2 separate regions of the Homo sapiens genome follow, and region 1 is linked to region 2. The links are contacts of gene promoters, found by promoter capture Hi-C in blood cells and fetal thymus (Javierre and others, 2016). All regions are on one chromosome and are shown on one strand. Each heading gives the region's core, a stretch centred on a gene start or on the middle of the fragment in contact. The rest is flanking DNA. Distances are from core to core; before and after follow the strand shown. Region 1 has its middle 6.4 kb from the start of LECT2. Region 2 holds the start of TGFBI (transforming growth factor beta induced).

The links. The method cuts DNA at HindIII sites, captures the fragments that hold promoters and counts their contacts. A CHiCAGO score of 5 or more calls a contact.
Region 1: a fragment that was not itself captured here is called in contact with the fragment with the promoter of TGFBI in region 2 in 1 of 17 cell types (monocytes); the score reaches 7.1 in monocytes.

What each region holds. Positions count from the first base shown.
Region 1 is chr5:135,958,559-135,964,301 of GRCh38, reverse strand. No RefSeq gene overlaps it. Among named protein-coding and RNA genes, the nearest start is that of LECT2, 6.4 kb to the right of the region's middle. The HindIII fragment of the contact is 1,184 bases long and covers 2,704-3,887 here.
Region 2 is chr5:136,025,438-136,030,598 of GRCh38, reverse strand. TGFBI (transforming growth factor beta induced) reads right to left here and starts at 1,611. Exons shown (of 17, transcript NM_000358.3): 1 at 1,410-1,611. The coding sequence starts at 1,543. LOC105379189 (a long non-coding RNA gene) reads left to right here and starts at 4,706. Exons shown (of 4, transcript XR_948809.3): 1 at 4,706-4,781. The HindIII fragment of the contact is 4,637 bases long and covers 1-3,438 here.

The DNA.
Region 1 (5,743 bases), core at 2,046-4,545, 68 kb after region 2:
AAAAGACACAATTAGCTTTAACAGAAGAAAAGGAAATGATTTTTTGGCCAACGGCTTACCAGAAAGAAATAACAGAATAGGAAAAACTAATGACAGGGGAAAATGTCTGCCTACCCACAGCAGAGGTGTAAACATCTTTGACCTTTATTAACGACACAGCAAGGGCCTTACAATCAGAACATGGACCTGAGTCTTTTTGAGGTACACATCCCGTTTAGCATATGGGGGGGGGCCTCCAGAATTTGCCCTATAAACAAGGTCACCTTATTATGAAATCTTCTGGTTTCTGTAACCTATTCCAGCCACAGGACATTGGAAACAGTTTGGGATCATAATCCTGAAAGACACAATCCAAATGCCATAATCCTAAAGGTTGAAATTCCAAAAGATCAAAATCTGTAAAGTCCAAATCCTTCAAGTCTAAAATCCCTCACATCTTAAAATCCTGAAGATCACAATAACAGAATAGTTGTGTCATATTAGGCGGAACTATTACCTCGTTAGTGTCTCTATTTGGGAATTAAGTATGGTTTAAAGAGAAGAAATTGGTGGAAAATTCAGATGATTGGTCATGCTATATGGCAACAATGAAAACTTCAGTTTAAAAAGCCATCGGTTGCCTGCATTAGCATTCCTTCCATCTCATTACATTCCGGGGGCTTTTAATGAATTAAAGCCACGTTTGCCTGAAGAAGCCAGTGAAGTTTCTGCCTGGTTAGAAAATAATTATGTGCATGATAGGATAAGAAGACCCGCAATAGTTTTGCACCAGTATTATTTCGAGAATGGACTTCTATGTACCCAAAACAACATGGAACCAAGGCACCAAAGATGGGAAAACTTAATAGGGAAGGCTATTATGTTGTTGTATACAGAATCATAGAAGAATTTTTAAAAGAGCAGTGCCACATAGAAAATGAAGGTGAACATATTCTCTGAGGAAAGCCATGTCCTAAAAGGAAAAAAGCAGCTATTCACTGAAATGCAAGATTTCAAAATACAGTTAATGCCTGTGAAAGTCAGTCATTTTTTACAGACTACCTTTGCACAATGCCTATAATCTATTCCTGTAACATAGTTCTTCATATGCGAAACTTCCTTTTTAGTTTTTTCTTTTTTAAGTTTTATTTTATTATTTTAAATTTTCAGCATTATTTTTTTTTACAATTCACTATGCACATTTCATCTTTGCATCATTTCCAATACTGGAGGTATAAATTGTGTAGAGACTTTCAGAAAGTTCTAATTCATTGCATACATTTTTGCAAATTTGACTTCGCAAAAGTATATTATCACAACAATGACTTTGTGTGTAAACATCGTGCCTGTACGTAAAACGTTGAAACATCTTCAGTAAATAAGGAGATGTTCCTTTTGTGCATCTGCATTTGTGAAAGATAAAATTTCTCAAGATCTCAGATCTTTGGACAACTGTATGTTATGATGGTGATTCACTGTGGTTTTTGATTGATCCCATCAAAAGACTTGGGTTGTGCATCACAGTATTTCAGATAACTGCAATGTTAAATCTGGCTGCACACAATTTCCAACAATAGTAATATGTACTTATACATTTCCCTTTTTGACCTATTTCTTTATGCATATGATTCATTTTCTCATCACTATTATATTCATATGACCGTTGTTAGTATACCCAAGTGCTTATGCTTGCAAAAATGTGTATTTTTGCCTATTTTATTGTGTAAAGTAGCCTATAGTGCTCTGTCACGTTTTCATGTGTCTCAAGTAAATCTCCTTTTGAAAATGTAAATCATAGCTTTAAAAAAATTTTAATTTTTTTTCCAGAATTATAGTTTCAGGATTTTGATCTTTTGGAATTTCAACATTTCGAATTATGGCATTTGGGGTTGTATCTTGGTGATTATATTTGGCTCCCATAGGAAAATAACTGAGTTTACATCTAATTCCATTTTAGAGTAGATAAGAAAGCAGGTGAGGGTGAATTTTATTAAGTGTTTTATTTTTATTTTTAATTAATTATTATTTTTATTTTTATTTTTTGAGACAGAGTCTTGCTCTGTTACCAGCCTGGAGTGTAGTGGCATGCTCTCAGCTCACTGCAACCTCCACCTGTGGGGTTCAAACAATTCTCCTGCCTTAGCCTCCCAAGTAGCTGGGACTACAGGCATGCGCCACCATGCCCAGCTAATTTTTGCATTTTTAGTAGAGACAGGGTTTCACCATGTTGGCCAGGATGGTCTCAATCTCTTGACCTTGTGATTCACCTGCCTTGGCCTCCCAAAGTGCTTGGATTACAGACGTGAGCCACTGCACCCAGCCTTAGTGTTTTGTATGTGCTTGGCCTAATGTAATTATTTTAGGAATACTACTTCATTTAATTCTTACAAGAATCCTATGAAGGTTGATATCATCATCTTCATTTTAGAGGTAGTAAAATGAAACTGATGTATTGATTGTCAAGCTTCAAATTCTGAAATATGAGAAAGGCTGTGTATGAATGATGAGTCATTCATTGAACCATATAACAAAATATGTAAAAGTATGAATTCTAGAGTCTAGTAGAGTTTGAGACTTGGCTTTGGCACATCCAGCTGTGGAACACTGAACATGTCACTTCAGTTCTCTGAGCCTCAAGCTTCCTCAGCTTTATTGCTCAGCTTTTTGCGAGGATTAAATTATACAGGGAATGCACTTGTTACAATACACTCTGTACAGTAAGCTTGCCTCCACTGACTTCTGCAAAAAATCTTTAAACAATTTTTATTGCATAATATTTTTTATTATTTAAAAAATGATTTACATATATTGAGCTAGTCTTGTATCCCAGGAATGAAGCCAACTTGATTGTGGTAGATAAGCTGTTTGATGTGCTGCTGGATTCAGCTTGCCAGTATTTTATTGAGAATTTTTGTTCTCAATAAAATTTTTGTTCTTTCTGATGAATCAATGTTCATCAGAGATATTGGCCTGACTTTTTTTGTTGTTGTATCTCTGATAACTTTTGGTATCAGGATGATGCTGGCCTCATAGAATGAGTTAGGCAAGAGTCCCTCCTTTTCAATTGTTTGGAATAATTTCAGAAGAAATGGTACCAGCTCCTCTTTGTGCCTCTTGTAGAATTCAGCTGTAAGTCCATCTGATCCTGGGCTTTTTTGGTTGGTAGGTTATTACTGCCTCAATTTCACAAATTGTTCTGATCTATTCAGGAACTCAACTTCTTCCTGGTTCAGTCTTGGGAGGGTGTATGTGTCTGGGAATTTATCCATTTCTCGTAGATTTTCTAGTTTATTGCTATAGAGCTGTTTATAGTATTCTCTGATGGTTGTTTGTATTTCTGTGGGGTCAGTAGTGATATCCGTTTATTATTTTTAATTGTGTCCATTTGATTCTTCTCTCTTTTCTTCTTTATTAGTCTAGCTAATAATTTATCTATTTTATTATTTTAAAAAAAACAGCTCCTGGATTCACTGATTTTTTGAAGACTTTTTCATGTCTCTATCTCCTTCAGTTCCACTCTGATCTTGTTTTTTATTGTAATTTTTTTGTCACTTAAAATTGTGTGTGAATGTTGAAATACTGGAAGATAAAAATCTGGAAAATATAAAATGTATAAAACATATATGTACAGTTTAAAGGGTAATAACCAGATGAACACCTGTGCCCAGCAACAGGTTTATAGGAGCATTATCAGCCCCCATGAAGCCCAGGTGCCTGCCCCTGATCACATCCCCTTCCTCTCTCCTGAAGGTAACCAGCATACAAATTGTGTCAACTCTTCTCTTGCTTTTCTTTATATTAATAGTTTTACCATCTATGTATGTGTTCCTAAACAATATATGCTTTAGATTTGCATGTATCTGAATGTTTTAGAAACAGCTTCATCTTGAGATATAATTTATAAAGCTTACTGTTTCAAGCATGCATTTGAACTTTTAATAAGCATATACTGCATATTGTTCTGTGATTTCCTCTTGTGTGTGTGTGTGTGTGTGAGATGGAGTCTTGCTCTGTCACCCAGGCTGGAGTGCAGTGGCGCAATCTCGGCTCACTGCAACCTCCGCCTCCTGGGTTCAAGCGATTCTCCTGCCTCAGCCTCTCTAGTAGCTGGGACTATAGGCGTGCACCAGCATGCCCAGCTAATTTTTGTATTTTTAGTAGAGACAGGGTTTCACCATGTTAGCCAGGTTGGTCTCGATCTCTTGACCTTGTGATCCGCCCACCTCGGCCTCTCAAAGTGCTGGGATTACAGGCGTGAGCCACCACGCCCAGCCGATTTCCTTTCTTCTAATCACCATTATGTTTTTGAGAGTCATCTAAGTTGATGTATTTGGTTGTATTTTATTCATTCCCATTCTTGTAGGGTATTTCATTAAACAAAAATACCAGAATTTGTTCCCATTCTACTGTTGATGCACATATAGGTTGTTTCCTGTTTTACACTACTACAAATGATACTACTATGAACATTTTGAACGTGTACACATGCAAGAGTATAACTAAGAGTGAAGCTGTTCTGTCGCAGGGTATGGACAGGATCAACTATGTTTCTTAGGAGGACGAGACCATCACTCAACCCACTATCTGAAATAAAAAGACAAAGCTGAATGAGTGACAATAGTTAGGAAGAGCTGTGTCGGTCAGGCACAATCTTTCCAAGCAGAGCAGCCTGTTCATCTTATTTATGTATGGATTTGGGAAGCTGGGAGTTCGGGGGTTTGTGAACTTTCGGAATGTTAGAGGTTTGACGGATTAAAAGACATGGTGCTCAGGTAAGACTGTTGTTGATTGGCTGGGAATCACTTACTAGAGTGAGTCTGTCCCTAATTGGCTGAAAGTCAGAAGCAAGGGGCTGTTATTGATTGGTTGTTTTGAAGAGCATGTTTACCAGACGTGGGTTGTCATTGACTGATTAAAGGGTTTAAAATATAGGTGGCTAAATATTACCAAGGTTACAGAAAAATCAGTTTTTCCTTGCTGTATGGGAACTTTTTTATGTTCAAAAGATATTGCCAACAAATTAATTGTCCAACAAATGTCTTTATTTAACTTGTTGCTATGGGAAAACTTTCAAATATAAACAAACTGGAGAGGATAGTATAGTAAACTTCTGCGTACTCATTACCCAGCTTCAGTAATTAGCAGTTCATAGCCAATTGTGTTTAATCTATATGCTACCTACTCTCCTAACTCCTGGATTATTTTGAAGCAAATCTGAAACATCCTATGATTTCATACCCATAAATGTTTCAGTATGTATTTCTAAAAGATAGGAACTTTTTACAAACACCTAATGTATTATGCTTAAAATTACACAGAATAATTTCTAATATCATCAAGTAGTGTTAAAATTGTCCCTATTCTCTGTTTCTCTCTGTCTATCATTTCCTCATTTGATTCAGACTCCAAGTAAAGTCCATACACGGCATTTTGTTGATAAATCTTGTAAATCTCTTCTAATCCACAGATTGCCCCTCTCTCTATTTTCCTTTCCTCAGAATTTATTTGTTGAAGAAACCAGGTTCTTTATCTGGTAGAACTTCCTACAGCCTGCATTTGTCTGACTGCATTCTTGTGGTACATTTAACATGCATCCCTGTGCTGCATAGTTCCTGTAAACTGAAAGTTAGAGCTAATGGCCTTATAAGACTTTAGCCTGATTTTTTGACAAGAATACTTTATAGGTTGTGTTGTGCATTTCCAACAGGAGGTATAAAATGTCTGATATACTCTCTCCTTCTCTCTCTTCTTAACAATACGATTG
Region 2 (5,161 bases), core at 362-2,861:
TGCCCAAGTCAAAGCTGATTCTCCCACTTCCAGAAAGACCCCAGGATATCCCCAGTATTCTCCTCTTTCCAGGAGGGTGTTGAGGTTGCAGCCAGGCCTGGTTTGATTTCACTCTGCAGGGTGGCCAGATGTGCTCCCAGCAGGCCCTCTCCGCCAGAGCCCCAAACTCCTGAAAGGCCTAGACCATAAAGCCACAAGTAGAGGAAACAAGAGCAACTATGCCCTACAAGGGGCAGCCTGTACCCGTACCCAGAGCACTCCTAGTGCAAGGAGCCAAGACTTTCAGGGCCTGTGAAGTCAACTCTATCACCCCCAACAATGAGTTTTGATTTGAGCACAGATCTGCCCAGTCTCTTGGAGGTTTGGGCATTGCTTGTGGGTGTGAACGCCAGACCCCGATGGTATTTAGGCTTCCTCTGAGGAGTCACTACAAGATTCTACTCATATATAGTTTTACCTAGTTATGAAAAAGAAGTTGGTGCAACCAGGTAGGCTGGAAGCTGCAGCAAAGCCTGGGTATTTGTGACGCAGGTATGGCCTGGTTTTTGAGGTAGAAATGTTGCCTGCCTCTGCCTGGGTCAGTATTAGGGCCACTATCAGACCAGACCTTCTGCTTGAGTTTGTCTCCTAAAGCCAACACATCTTCAGGGTCTCAAAGGAATTCCTGCAATGATAGTGTCCTACATTTACAAACCCAGCTATTACTTTAAGACAGACTCCAATCCTGGCTCCAGTGCACACTTCAGGACTGTGGGAAAGTGGAACCACTCAGGACTCAGTTTCCCCATTTGAACAGTGTGTGTGAGGGCCCAGTGCATTCTCCTGCTCTTCATCGGGCAGGACAAGAAGTGCCACATTGCCCTTGCTGTACCCAGAGAGCAGTGTCGGGTGCCAGCAGTGTCTGAGTGCAGGGCCTGGCCAGGAGCACAGGAGCCTGGGGCACCTTAGATGCTGCCACCGTGTGTGGCCCAGGTTCTTGTCTGGAGTCGCTGGCCGGGGGCCTGGCTGGGTTGGAATAGGTGTACTGCTGGGTGGGCTTTGCCCTTGGCACCCTCCCACGGTGATTATGGCCAAAGAGTTGCCATTTCCCCCTTTCTGCAGTGGCTGGGAGGAGAAGCTGAAAGCGCTGTCCGTCTCAGGCTCTTGGCCTGCGTCGAAAGTCTCTGGTCCACTTCCCCACTCCCTTCTACAAAGCGGCGGCCTCCCGCTTTCCCTCCATGGTCCTCCACCTCCCTCCCTCTCTCCTTCCACCGCGTGCAGGGCTGGTGTCCGAGCGCTCCATGCTGCAAGGTTTTTAGTTCGGGCTTTGTCCCCTGCGCCCCCAGCCCAGTTCAATGCCCCCAGCGGCTTGCGCTCCGAGCCCCGACTACCTGACCTTCCGCAGCCCCTGGCCAGGCGGCTCGGCTTACCCGTGCTGGCGGCCCCGGAGCCTGCTGTGCTGCAGCACCAGCTGGTAGGGCGACTTGGCGGGACCCGCCAGGGTCGCGGCGGGGCCCAGGGCCAGAGCCAGGGCGAGAGCCAGCAGCCGCACGAAGAGCGCCATGGAGCGGGACGACGCGCACCGAGCGAGCTAGCGACCGACGGGCAAGCGGGCGGCTCCAGGGAAGTGAGAGCGCCTCCGCCGCCCGGGCCAGGTTAAGTAAGCTGCGAGCGGGAGGGAGCGGACGCCAGGGGCGGGGAAGCTGGGCCGGCCCGTGCAAGGAGGGCGGGCCGCCTGGCGCCTCCCAACCCGTGCGCCCCTGGCTGCCCTGGGCACCCACCCGCTCCCGCACTGTGCCCGTGCTCAGTTTTCCCAGCCCTTGCCCTCACTGCCAGCCCTCCCTCCCTCTCTCCCTCGCCACAGTCTTCCTCAAACCAAGGGTATAGGTCCCTTAGGCCTCCTGTGGCTGCTTCCAAATGGGGACCTTGGGACTGAGGGACAGCTGTCTCGGGGGCTTCGGTCCTGCATGCTGGGGGCCCGAAGATTCCCTCACTGATCTTGAGGCTACAAAACACTGCAGGGAGGGGTGAGGGGAGGCAGTGCTGATTCCCAGAACACCATGGCCCATCAGACTTGTTTCTGCACCCCAGGAGCTGACCACCCTCCCCAGCTCCTCAATCTCTAATCCCTCCACCCCCACCCCACCTGTCATGCTCATTGAAAGACAGATGAGTAAATCGTGTGATCCACAGAAACGCCAAAAATGTGGGGCAGGTTTTGTTGGGCTCTAAGCTGCTTTTGGAGCCCGTGGGGAAGGGTGGGGTCCTCACCTTGGTACTAATTCATTCCCTTCTTCAGTAAACATCTCTGCAACAGTACCTGCCAGATAGATTCTGCAAAGGCAAGAGTCCTGCCCTGGAGGAGCTCAAGGCAGGTAAACAAATTGTCACATGGTAAAGAGGTGATACTTACCCAAGCATCTATTAATCACCTGTCAGTTACTTGGCACTGCTAGCCCTGGGGAGACACAGATGGATTAATAGAATGAGTGAGACCTAAGCCCTTTGTGAAAAAGCTCCAATTTGGGAAGATCCGTAGCCCAAGCCAATGATGTTCCATGAAGAGTAGCTGGGGCTTTGGGAGCTAAGAAGAGGCACCTGGCCCTGACAGGGTGATACCTGCTCTGAGGCCTGAAAGATGAAAATGAGTTAATCAGGTAAACTGAGGCATGCATTCACGAAACTCAAGTTATCTGGTTGGCTGAAGCACAGGGAGGTGGAGTCAAGGGTAGGGAAGAAGGGGAGGAAGGTAGCAGGGCCCAGACTCCAGCTAAGAGCCTAGCGGGTGATGGGTGGAGGCAAGTGACATGGCCAGTGTCATGAGAGGCTTAAGGAGGCAAGAAGAACAGGTAACCAGGAAGGGACCATGGGAGAGCTTGAACTATGGTGGTAGAGGCAGAGATGGGGAAGGCTGGGCAAATGTGAGGGGTGTAGGAGGTAATAGTCTCAATAGAATTTGGAGTCTGTATACAGGGAGAAGGGGAGAAAGGAGAGTCAAGGATATTGTAGGGTGTTTGTGGTCTGGACATTGCAGCAGGTGATGGTGCCATGTTCAGAATGAGGCACATGCAGAGTGCAGGCTTGCCAGGTAGATGAGTGGTTTGGGACACCCTGAGTCTGAGGTGCTTATGACTCATCCTGGTGAAGCATCCCATGAGGATAAAGCTGGATATGAGGATCGGGGGCTTGAGTGAGGGACGCGGGATGAAGATTCACACCTGGGAGTCATCCTCCAGTGACAGAAGAGCCCAGGAAGTAGAGAATGTGGGGTTGTAGTCAAGGAGGGGTATCCTAGTAGGAGGGCGCTGCTCAAAGTGAGGAATGCTGCCAACAAGACAGATCTGAATGGCTTTCACTGTGTCAGAAGCAGAGAGGCCACTGGGGACTTGGCTGTGGAGAGCAGATGGCCAAAGCCCGAATATGGTGGTTTGATGGAGAGATGAGTAGCATGTAGAAGCTTGTCTGAGAAGGGAAGGGGCGAGTTAGGATGGCAGCCAGGGAAAGAAAAAGACAAGCGGGGCTTGGAGAGGTTAGAACTCTGGTAGAAAGAAGGTGGGAAGGAGAAGGGAGAGAGTGTGGGCACTGGAGGAGGGCCTACTGAGAGCATAAAGCAACTGAGGGCCTGCATGGGGAGTGATCAAGCTAGTGGAGAGGAGGGAACAGGTGTATGGGAGATTTTAGTGGTAGCATTGATTAGACTTGGAAACCCCTTGGGCATGCAGGGTTAGGGAGGGGGAGTAGAGCTAACCTCGAGGCTCATAGCTGGCAGGAAGGGATGCCTGTGCTGGGCACGCTGGTGAAGGTGCACATTTGGGTGTGTGAGGAGAGTGCTCCATTTGTGTTCACATTATGTGTGAACAAGCCACCTGCATTTCCAGGAGGGATGGACAGGAGGGAGCTATATTCAAAGGTCTTGAGCTCAGGATAGGTATGAGGATTGGAGATGCAGATTTGAGTCACCACTACGAGCAGGTGGTAGCTAAAGTCATGCACTGGATGAGCTTCCTTGGGAGCAGGTGTTGGAAGAGAGGAGGAGGAGGAAGGAGAAGAAAAGGAGAAGATGGGTTCAAATACCAGTCTTTCTACTTCCTAGCTGTGTGGTCTTGGGCAAGTTATTCAACCTCATAGAGAGGATAATAAAACCTACCTCACAGGACTCTAAACTAGATTACATGATACAATTCAAGTAAAATGGCCAATAAATATGCATTGCTATTATTATTATTACCTCTCCCCAGTCATTGTTCTATATAGTAGGGTTCAATGAAACAATATGATAGTTTTGAGCAACTACAGAAATAATTATCTGAAAATGCTCATTTCATTTATTGAAAGCAAAACATTTCTCGGTTTCAGCATGACTGCTTGGCATAGGATAATGGGAAGAACCCAAAGGGATTCAAGCTCAGGCTGACTCCCAGAACAAGTTTCCCCTGAGACCAGTAGAATTTGGCTGCATTGCAGTTTCTAGGAAAAATGCTCCTTGTATGTAAGAGGCCAGGAGCCCTGCCATCTGGTTCCAGCTCTCTCTCTAGCAAGATTTAGGGCAAGTCAAGCAAGTTCACTGGACCTCACTTCTCCAGTCTGCAAAACTAACATTCGATGACTTGAGTTTTTCCATGAGCTCAGTAAAGAGATTGCAGTAATACTTTATTTATGGTTTAGATATTTTTTTAAAATCCCACATCCATGCCCCACCACCCATCCCCTCTTTCAAACATGAAAAGCAGAATGCTGTGAGTATAACCATTCTCCCACCTGAGGTTGCTGCTTCTTTGGAGACAAGAGTGATGCTGCTGGAGGTAAGAGCAGGGACCCTCCATCCCCAGATGACCCAGAGCCAACCAGGCAAACACAGAGCACCAGAAACCCTGTCATTTGAGAAAGAATTTTTTCCTTCCAGATTAAACAATCTAAACAGGAGAAAGTGAGGCTTGCTTGGAAGAATCTTTACTAGACTTTTTCAAGCACTTTTTAAAAAATGACTGCTTTTACATTTTGTGGCACATGAAAGGTCACCAAAAACATTCAGGTTTTGAAAATAATACTGTAGGGTATGACAACAAGCTTTATGCATCATGATAAATTAGTAGTTCCAACAAGTTCTTCACAAAGGAACCTAGGAAAGAAACTGGTTCTGGGCCTGTTGGTGGGAGAGCTGGCATCTGCAGCCCAGCTGACA